2 separate regions of the Homo sapiens genome follow, and region 2 is linked to region 1. The links are contacts of gene promoters, found by promoter capture Hi-C in blood cells and fetal thymus (Javierre and others, 2016). All regions are on one chromosome and are shown on one strand. Each heading gives the region's core, a stretch centred on a gene start or on the middle of the fragment in contact. The rest is flanking DNA. Distances are from core to core; before and after follow the strand shown. Region 1 holds the start of TMEM196 (transmembrane protein 196). Region 2 overlaps MACC1 (MET transcriptional regulator MACC1).

Region 1 (5,122 bases), core at 1,453-3,952:
TCCAATATTTTTTAACTACACTGACAAGAGTATTAAATATTAGATGAACTTCTAGCTAAATGATTGAACTACTAAAAATTTTATGATTTTTCTTTTTCTAATTTTTTGTACTGCATTGGCAATTCAGCCCAGTGCCCACGACCACCATATAAATTTTGCTTATAATAGCTTAGATACATTAAATCAGATCTTAAAATTAATCATTTCACATTTTTAGCTTTTTCAATAACTCTATATTAATGTGGCAGCATTGATGATTTTGTCAACTTACTTTATTATATTAAGACAGGAGACATTAGTGTACTGTCTACCCATTCCTGGATTTTCCTTCATCCAGATACTAAAATTTCCATAATCTAATTTGGGTAAATGGGTGAATGAGAGAACCTCAGAATTCTTGAATATTTACTGGAAGTGCTTAGGTCCTTAAAGTTAGCCACTATAAAGATGTTTTCTTTTATTAAGGCATCTAATAAGAATTATTTTGAGGCTACTCACATTCACTTGTATCATGCATAAGCCAGCAGATGGCAAACTTGAGATTTTTTGTGCTATTGCTCTTGCCAAAGTTGTGGAAATATTGAATTATCTATCAATGGATCTCATGAATAGCTCTTTTGGTGTACTACAGCGTTAGAAAAATCAAATTCAGAAATTGTGGAGCTACTGGTATTTGGATAGTGGTGTGCTTCATATGATTTTTTCTTGATTTATAGTTTTTACCCTATAATTATTTGTCTAGCAAATAATTTGGAGGGATAATTATAATAAGAATCATAAATAATTTGTCAGTTTGAACTCTTTTTTCTTGATTTCTGTATTTAGGAGGAAATTTTAGGTGTATTTGGATTTATCTTAGGAGGATCATTACATGATATTTAAAAGGCACAAAAAATATCCTTTGTGTCCCAATAAAGATAACGTAATTTTTTTTGAAAATTTTAACACTGATGCTCATGTTTTAAAACTCAAAACAGCAGTTTCCTCTATAGAAAATAATTGTTTTTATTTGTAAAAATATTTGTTTTATTGTGAATTATTGTTAGTTACTTATGTGAAGATGAGTTGAATTTCTTCCATATACAAAATCAAAAGTTTTGGATTTCTAACCAATGACCCAGAATCAATCAGGATTGGTTTTTATCAGGCATATGATAACCAATCTTATATTCCAAGCCATCACATTCAGAGATAAAATGTTAACCGCAATATATGTTTTGTTTGTTTCTTTTTCTCTGTGAAATTCAACTATTGTTAATACCATCCCTGTGTTCTCTACAAAAGTTTATTTCCCTTCCTATATGTCTCCATTAATCAATTCATTTAATATTACAACTTGTTGTCTTCCTAACAGAGAAGCATTTTTTTCCTAAAGAAAAGAAGTGACTAAACACAAAGCAAAACTTCAACAACATATATGCTGTATTATTTATGCATATAAATTGGATCATTTAGATGACTTCTGTATTATTTAAATTAAATAAACTTTACATCATTAAAGCCATACACTAATGAGGTACTTTAGCATGTCTTTGAGGATTTAAAAGCATAGAAATGAATCCACTAATTATCATTCAGTACCAATGTTTATTTGTACTCCAAATATCACAATAACTGAAGCTCTTTAAGGCCTAACAAATTGTAACTCTTCTTCCTTACATTTGTTTTATTTTTAAGAGAAAAGGATTCAAATTTTTAAATTATAGAATATAAACATATGAAAAAAATTATAGTGTAGAATTGAGTTTAAACTCTAAAAGAAGCCCTTAATCAAATTTAAGAAAACTGAAACTGGCATTTATGTTACAGAACTTATGCTATAGGTCACCGAGCTTTTATGTTCTCATCATGGGAGCTTTAAGAAGCCTCTAATAGAGGCGCCTGCACTGCACTGATGTATAGAAGTCAACATTCCCTAGTCTTGTGTTATTGTACCCTAACCTCATCTTCCTTTGTTCTATTTTCCTTCAGTCCATGTCGAACTGGAGAACCCAGTTTTTGAGAAAGATGACCCACACCCAAAACCCTCTCTTTATCCCACTTCCTAGATCTCCTTGATAGAATACCTTGAGATTTTTCATAAAACTAGAGTAATGAAAATGGGGTCTAAACACAGCGATCCCTAGACATCTAGAGTCTCATAGGCATCAAAAGACAATGCAAAAATATCCCAGGCCAAGCTGGACTGGCCCCTGCCCTAAAGATTCTGATGAAAGTAGACTGTCAAAAATAATTGTGCATTAAGCCAGACGTGTTTTTTTTTTAAATAATGCCTGTTCTAATGCATACACATCTCTTGAATTTTGTTGAGAATATATAATCCCAGCTCAGTTGGGTCTAGCTATGCCTCCCAGAACGTGTGGTCACGCTCCTAGGGGAAAGCAAGGGTCTGTGGCTGGAGAGGAACAAAATCACCGTGGAGGTGTGGCCCCCATCAACTGCTTCTTCGCCCTACGACACGGAAGGTGACAGGCTGTGATGGCCGGGAGTGGACATTCCTTGTAAGCAGGCTTGAATCTAGCTCTCCTAGACAGGGGAGTTCCTTGGTGAGGGGCCTTGAGAGTCCTAGTGACATTAGGAGTCTGGCTTTTTCCACCCCCCTGGGGTTTCCGTCTTTCTTTGCTCACTGCTCCCCCTACCCCGCGTACAAGCTAAAGAAAGTTTTTCTCAGAATGAGCCCGCGTTGACGTAGGCATCGCCTCCCCTCTCCGCTGGATAGAAGCCCAGAAAGGAGCCACGGGGAGAAGCGGAGGTAGGGGTCGCCTGGATTTCTGTTGCTGCGGTCCGGGGGCGGGGCGGATCAAAGGCCAGCCAAGAGTACTGGTCCTGGATCTACAAATACATTAGGCTTTTTCCTCCTCCGTCAACCTCCTAAACCCCAATGAGGTCATAGCAATGAAAGAGAATCAGCTCGAGAGAAAGGAGGAGGAAGAGGACGACGACGAGGGAGAAGAAACCCAGACGGAAAGAGGCCATCAGACAAGGTCGCTTTTTCTGGCGACAAAGCAACTGCAAGGAGCGTGGTGCTGAATATCATCCGCCCGCTCTGCCTGGGGACCCAGAGACTTGCAGAAGCACTTCGCATTGCCACGAAAACAAAGGAGAGGTGACGAACGGGAGAGGGAGAGAGAAACTCGGAGCGGTTCCCTTTGGATCTCCGGGAAGCAAAGCTCCTCTCCTCGGCAATAAAACAGAAGGGACCCTGTGAAAGGGTCTAGTAGGCTGAGGAGGGCGCGGGTTTCCCTGCGGAGATTTGGGACGCGGCAGAACTCTGGACAGCGCCTGGGGAGCAAGGCTCGGAGCTCCCTGGGCTCCTCCAGGTTTTCCGCTGCTTAAAAGCCCCGGTACCGGTGTGCAATCTTCGCACCACCGAACCCAGGAAGATCCTTCTACGATCCCTATCTGAACGTGCCAGGGGGTGGAGCAGCTCCTTTGCCTCTGGCCCAGCCAGGGAAGGTCTTCGTTTCTGGAAATCCAGCCCTTGTGGATAATGCCTCGCTCTTGAAGAAAGAAAAGTTTTGGGATCTGGTAGGGGGTGGAAGGGGTAAGGAGGATAGTGGAAGAAAAAAAGGTAGATGGTTGATTTCCCTCTCTGATCTGGAAGGAAGATGACCGAGGAAGGATGTGCACCAGCGGTCAGATTATTGGGAGCCTCTTGGTGCTCTCCGTGCTGGAGATAGGGCTGGGGGTGTCCAGCGTGGCCGTGGGGGCGGTCAGCTTCAGCCTGGCCCTCCGAGAGCACAAGCCGCAGCTCGGAGACTCGTCCCCGGTATGGAGCGGGGTGTGTGTACGTTGAGCCATTTCACTCTCTCTTTACCTCTTTACGGTGATGGTCAGGGTGCGCGCATTAGTCACTCCCTCCCTGGGAAACAAAATCATAGATCTCTGGCTTGCATGTAGGTTCATGCTGACAAGCTATGCTTCTTTATATTGTCCTTTATTCGTTTTCTGTTTTGTTTTGTTTTGTTTTGTTTTGTTTCTTACTTGGGCTTAAGACCAAATTAAATGGCTTTGTTTAAAGGTGGGGGTGGGGGGTTAGTTTCCACTGGCTGATTCTACAAAAGGCTGCTTTGCCCAGTGGTGCTGTTTGGGAGGCGGGGGGAGGGGGGTGTCACACCTGTCAAGGGCAGGCTCACTTAATCTTTTGTTCCTTCTACAAGGAAAATCAAAATAAGAGTATTCCATCATTTTTTTGTATCAGGGAACAAGCAGGGATAGTTATGCATTTATCCCTGGGCAATAATGCCCAAGGTACACCAGAGGCAACACCAATAACAAAAACAGAAACGTGGTGTGAGTGTGAAAGGAAGTTTGTGGGTGCATTTCATTCCAGAAAACATTGCTGTTAATTTTCCTTTGCTACATTTCTGATATTTCACCTCTGAAAACGCTTTTGTAAGTTCTAGACAGTAAGTTAGAAAAACATCAGATGGTAAGACGTGTAATAACATTCTAAATGGAGAATAATTCTGCTTACAGAGTACCTAACTGCTCAGAGAAACTGTCATAGTTATCTCTAGGTCAGATGTCAGACTCAACAAGCTTCTTTTTTACTAGGATGAATCTCCAAGAAAGCCTTAGAGACCCATTTCTTCCACCAAGATTCAATAAAATAACTCAGCACCATTCCTAATGTGAATCTAATTGTGAAAACCAGTTTTTTCCTTCAAGCTATATATGTGTCATATACTTCTGGATGCCTAGCTTGATCCTACTTTTCAAGATAATTCAATAGAAAGTATTCTGTCACTGATAATCTGTAGCATGTTTAACCATCATGGCTTAATCACTTGAGCTTTAAGTCACTAAAAGAAAATGATTATTACGGAGTTCAAGAAAAATTATTCAAAAGTAATTCATTTTTGAAAGATGCTGTAACTTTTTTTTGAAACTGGCAAAATTTTGCTTTGGATAATTAGATTTATATATTTTTTCAGGTGAGATAAATGTTTTTAAATTGCAGAACTACAAAAAAGAAAAATAGTGTTCAATCCTAACATTGAATTCATCCAAGAATCCTTACTTTGAATTCAATAATAAGTTACTATCAGCCTCCAAATAATTATCTTGTTCTTTGTCATGTAATTTTTGTCAATGTATATATTAAATTTGAGTTTGAAAG
Region 2 (5,122 bases), core at 1,715-4,214, 400 kb before region 1:
TGGTAACCAGCCATCCTGGTTTGCTCCGGACTGAGAGGTTTGGATTTTAAAACAGGGCAGTCCTGGGCAAACCCAGATCAATGGCAGCTCACCCTGCTTGTAACCCGTATGTTCATTTGGGCAGCTGTGTTTTCCTTTTATTCCTGCTGTTAAGTTGGACTCAATGCCTCTTATTTTACACTATAAATGTTTCCTGAATCAGTGAGTAACATGGATTTTTCTGAAGATTGTGTGGGAGAACTAGATATTAGGGTTGACAATGCATACCTCTCAGTATTTCCCTCAGAATATTCTCATTAGTTATGTCTTTTTATTTCGTATTTCCCTTCTAGGCTACAATCACTTGTCCCAATCCTCAGTCTCCTCAGTTGGTTTCCTTTCTTACCCAGGGCAGTTTTCCTCTCTCAGCTTTTTCCTCCAGACTTCTTGTAACTCACATCATCACTTGATACCGTGTTGAAATAAGTGAAATTTTGAAGATGTAATTGTCTCTGTGAGGCCGAGGTGGGCAGATCACCTGAGGTAGGGAGTTCGAGACCAGCTTGACCTATATGGTGAAACCCTGTCTCTACTAAAATTACAAAAATTAGCTAGGCGTGGTGGTGGGCATCTGTAATCCCAGCTACATGGGAGGCTGAGGCAGAAGAATTGCTTGAACCTGGGAGGTGGAGGTTGCAGCGAGCTGAGATCACACCACTGCACTCCAACCTGGGCGACAGAACGAGACTCCATCTCAAAAAAAAAAAAACAGATATAATTGTCTCTAAGAAAGAAAATAATCAGCCGGGCGTGGTGGCTCATGCCTGTAATCCCAGCACTTTGGGAGGCCGAGGCAGGCGGATCACAAGGTCAGGAGATCGAGACCATCCTGGCTAACACGGTGAAATTCCGTCTCTACTAAAAATATAAAAAAAAATTAGCTGGGCGTGGTGGCGGGCACGTGTAGTCCCAGCTACTCAGGAGGCTGAGGCAGGAAAATGGTGTGAACCTGGGAGGCGGAGCTTGCAGTGAGCCAAGATAGCGCCACTGCACTCCAGCCTGGGCGACAGAGCAAGACTCCACCTCAAAAAAAAAAAAAAGAAAATAAAATAATCTTCCAGTTTCTAGTAATCAGAAATCAGTGGAGCATTAATAATAACAAAAATACTTTTGTTCAGCTGAATCATATATATGTCTATATCAATATCCATCTTTCTCTATCAGTTGTCTATATTTCTGAATAGATATATGCACACATGTATGCGCATTAGTATTTTTCAAGTCACTGCTTTGACAAAGAGTTCATACTGTTGCACACCGTTCTGTTTACAAAAATAACAAATGGAAACAGTGTGATTCCCTGAAACATTAGAAACTAGATGTAATCAATTGTTGAGAATTTAAGGGAAATTCCTGCTGTATGAATTGGATGGTGTGGTGTAATGAGTCTCTCTTTAATCTTACCCATTCTACCAAATTTTATTCATAAGCTCTTTCTCATAGCAAACGTTAGTGCATAAACATTCTGTTTTCACTTAACAGTGACCAAAGATTCATGTTTATTCTCTTTCAAGTAGGTAGCCTTGTCAGATGATATGCAAATGATTCACATCAGTGTTTGAAGTTCAAACCAAGGAAAACTGTGAGTATACACAAAATGTCAGAGTGTTTTTCTCTTGGCAAAGAATGCTGGGAATCTTACGATTAATTCCATACAGTAACAACTCAGCAAGTGTTGGCTAAAAATACTTGCTTTTACTGCAAAAGTACTAACACAAATCTAATTTTAAACGATACAATAATTTTTACATTTTCCCCTTCAGAGAGGTGAAAAGTATTGTCAAGTTGAATAATCTGTTAAGCTAAAATGACAAACTTTCACAGTGTTTATTCTGTTTCCTCTTTTCCAATATTCTTTACATATCTTTGTCAGTAACCACTCATTACATTGTCTAAGACCAACGGAATTGGCACAGAAGTGAAAAACAGAGAAGAATTATCATTTTAAGCAGCAACTGATGTTCATTGGGGATTTATGTTATTTCAATATTTACAACAATTTTTTAAAAAAGCTTTATTGAGATATATTTCACGTATCATTGTAACCACTTTTTGAAGACAATATTTTACCCTCATTTTGTAGATGAGGAAATGGTGCTCAGACCAGTGAATTCATTTCTAAGCATTGGTCTGAAGTTACGTCTGTCTATTTTCAAAGACTGCGTTCTTTCTATTGCACTCCAGTGCCTCTGCTGTGATGAGTCCAGTCACTCTTTTGGCAGGAATCATGGCACTGGTAAAATTTTCTATGAAGGGTGAAGAATAGGATACAGGGTCCCAAGACACAACTTGTAAGCTATCAGAGATTGGAGTCTCAAGACATCTGATTGAGAGGAGAAGATTCTTGAATGGGCCCAGTTGGCAAAGTTATTTCTATATGCACTGGAATAACCAGGAGGGAGAGACCAGAGGAAAAGCAAGGGGTCCTCTTGTGCCACTTTTTATACAGTATTTCATTTGATCCTTATGAACAGCATGTGGGGTTATTATATGTTGATAGTAATACTAATTATTACCTATTTTAGTTTAGTTCTTTACAGATGATAAGTAGAGTTCCAGAAATGTTCAGTATCTTTCCAAGTTTATACTAGAAGGACTGTAACCAGAGAATTGTAACTCCAAAGCCTATATTCTTTCTACTTTACAAAAATGCATTTACATAAAAGAAAGGAAAGACATTGCTGACTGATGACAACCAGTGAGGTCTCCTGATATACTGTCAAGTGTTCTAGGAAGCAGTGGAGCTTTGCAGAGAAAACAAATACAGAATTTGGCTCAGTTTGCTAGAAAAGACCATGCAAGTGAGGACCCTACAGTTACAGCTTTATTAGCCACACTATAAACCCACGTCTTGTCCACCCCTTCTGAATTGGGGGTTGATCTTTATACCTTTTGAAAAGTACAACCCAGAACACGTTTTTTGCACTGAAGGGTACAGGAAAGAAAAATGACTGCAGGTCCATAACTACACAAAGTCATATCCAACTACTCTTGCAATAATTAAACTTGTCCAATCCCAGGGACAAGATTTGTAGCTAATTTATTTCTCAGAGTTTGCTTGAAACATCTATTGCTTAAAGTTAAACCTGAGAGACATATCACTGGGAATATTTTATGGCAACAGTGGGGATTAGGTAAAAGAAGTCATTAAATGTTTTTCACAATGAAAGTACTACAGCTTTGCTCTGTGGCCTTGAAAGTTGGAAATGTATGCTCTTGTGTGGGAGCAGTAACAAAACTGTTTCTGAGGAAAACTGCAGTCCCTATCATGGCACAGCATGCAGAAGTAGAATGATCTTCTGCTCAGGCTACATTTTAGCTACTCATCTCAATTGTCATCTCAAATTTACTCATCTCAATTTTCACAAGAGAACGTGACTCCTATCTTTAACTTAGTGAATTGTTTGGGTCTTCAAAAGAAAAAGCTGCTCTGGATCTTAGGCCTAGAATGTCTCAGTCAGCTCTGACTTGAAAAGTGGAAAGGGAAACTCTGTTGAGAGGAACCAAGCATAGTGGGCTTTACTGGACTAGGTCCTGTCCTTTTGGGATTGTAACCTGACATGTGTGCTTATCTTAGAATAGGGAGGCAGATAGCTGTCTAGCTGGGCCCACTCTTCTCCACCTGACTTGACAGAATTGCCTTTGGGTGAGATGACATCAACACACATTAAGAAAGAGCTCCATTAAAGAGATTTACTGTTGAACATACTGTAAAAGGTGGGACCGAGGATACTGTCCCCAGTAGTTACATGCTCCTCTTCACCCCTCTTTATTCCAGGTATTGCTGGTGCTGCTGTTAAGTGGCTTCTTTGTGTTCTATGATCACTGTGAAGCTTGTAACTAATCATGTTTACCTTATTTTGGTCACTTTCAGAAAGTGGAGAGCCAAATGTGTGGACTACTGCTAATAGGTATACTGGAATTTACAGCATGATGTTTGTGAAGTTGCTTTTATTTGAAGTTGTCCTACCAACTTCCTGCAAATGTCACCCTTATTTATTCACTTATTTTGTTTTTAAATTTTTTTTTTTTTACTGAAGAATAATATACACTTACTTGTTGTTTAAACTCATTGTGTTATTTGACTATTTGTAAATTTCTCAACATATTTTTAAGCCAAGGAAGTGCATGTGTGTTGTGGGTATGTTCATGCACACACACGTGTAAAATGAACATACTGTAGGGAATTCAAATAAAAAAGACAAATAACTATCAACCTCTCTGCAGCTTGGTTCATCATCTGTAAGATGAGCATTCTTCATCCAAAATAATGCTTTTCTCCTTTCTTCATGGCCCCTTGTAATTTTAGTCATTTCTCTGGGTCTGAAGAGTAAAGGTTGCCAACTCTGTGAACAAGGACCAGCTACATAATTTGCAGCACCAGTGAAAAATGAAAATATGGGACCTCTTGTTCAAAACATATTAGGTATTTCAAGATGGCAGTGGCAGAGCATTACACCAAGCATGGGGCCTATCCAAGAGTGGGGCTCTGTGTTATTGCACAGGTCACATGCCCATGATGCAGGTCCTGCTGTGAACTTGGAGATCTTCCGGGGTCAACACTGTGGCTTGATACTACTCTCCAGCAACAGGGTCAGGGTGTAGTCTCAAATTTCGCTTCCTCTGGAAGAGAAGTTTTAACCTATAGGTAGAAAGTGTTGTGTAGAGTTCAAAAATGTGTTTGCTAGTATCTAGTATCCTTAAGTTCAAAGACTGGTTTGCTACTTAGTAGCTTTATAATCTTGGGCATATAATGTCCCTAAGACTTTATTTCCCTACCTTTAAAATGAGGATAATGGAGGCCAGGCATAGTGGCTCATGCCTGTAATCCTAGCACTTTGGGAGGCCAAGGCAGGCAGATTGCCTGAGCTCAGGAGTTCGAGACCAGCCTGGGCAACATGGTGAAACCCCATCTCTACTAAAATACAAAAAATTAGCTGGGCGTGGTGGCATGCACCTGTAGTCCTGGCTACTCAGGAGGCTGAGGTAGGAGAATTGCTTGAACCCGGGAGGTGGAGGTTGCAGTGAGCTGAGATCACACCACTGCACTCCAGCCTGGGCGACAGAGCAAAATTCCATCTCC

What was found. The method cuts DNA at HindIII sites, captures the fragments that hold promoters and counts their contacts. A CHiCAGO score of 5 or more calls a contact.
Region 2: a fragment that was not itself captured here is called in contact with the fragment with the promoter of TMEM196 in region 1 in 1 of 17 cell types (fetal thymus); the score reaches 6.2 in fetal thymus.

The regions. Positions count from the first base shown.
Region 1 is chr7:19,771,197-19,776,318 of GRCh38, reverse strand. TMEM196 (transmembrane protein 196) reads left to right here and starts at 2,702. Exons shown (of 5, transcript NM_001363562.2): 1 at 2,702-3,769. The coding sequence starts at 3,623. All of the region lies in intron 1 of LOC107986774 (a long non-coding RNA gene), which reads right to left. The HindIII fragment of the contact is 8,082 bases long and covers 1-4,544 here.
Region 2 is chr7:20,167,213-20,172,334 of GRCh38, reverse strand. MACC1 (MET transcriptional regulator MACC1) reads left to right here. Exons shown (of 7, transcript NM_182762.4): 2 at 1,557-1,621. Among named protein-coding and RNA genes, the nearest start is that of MACC1-AS1, 28 kb to the right of the region's middle. The HindIII fragment of the contact is 1,821 bases long and covers 2,054-3,874 here.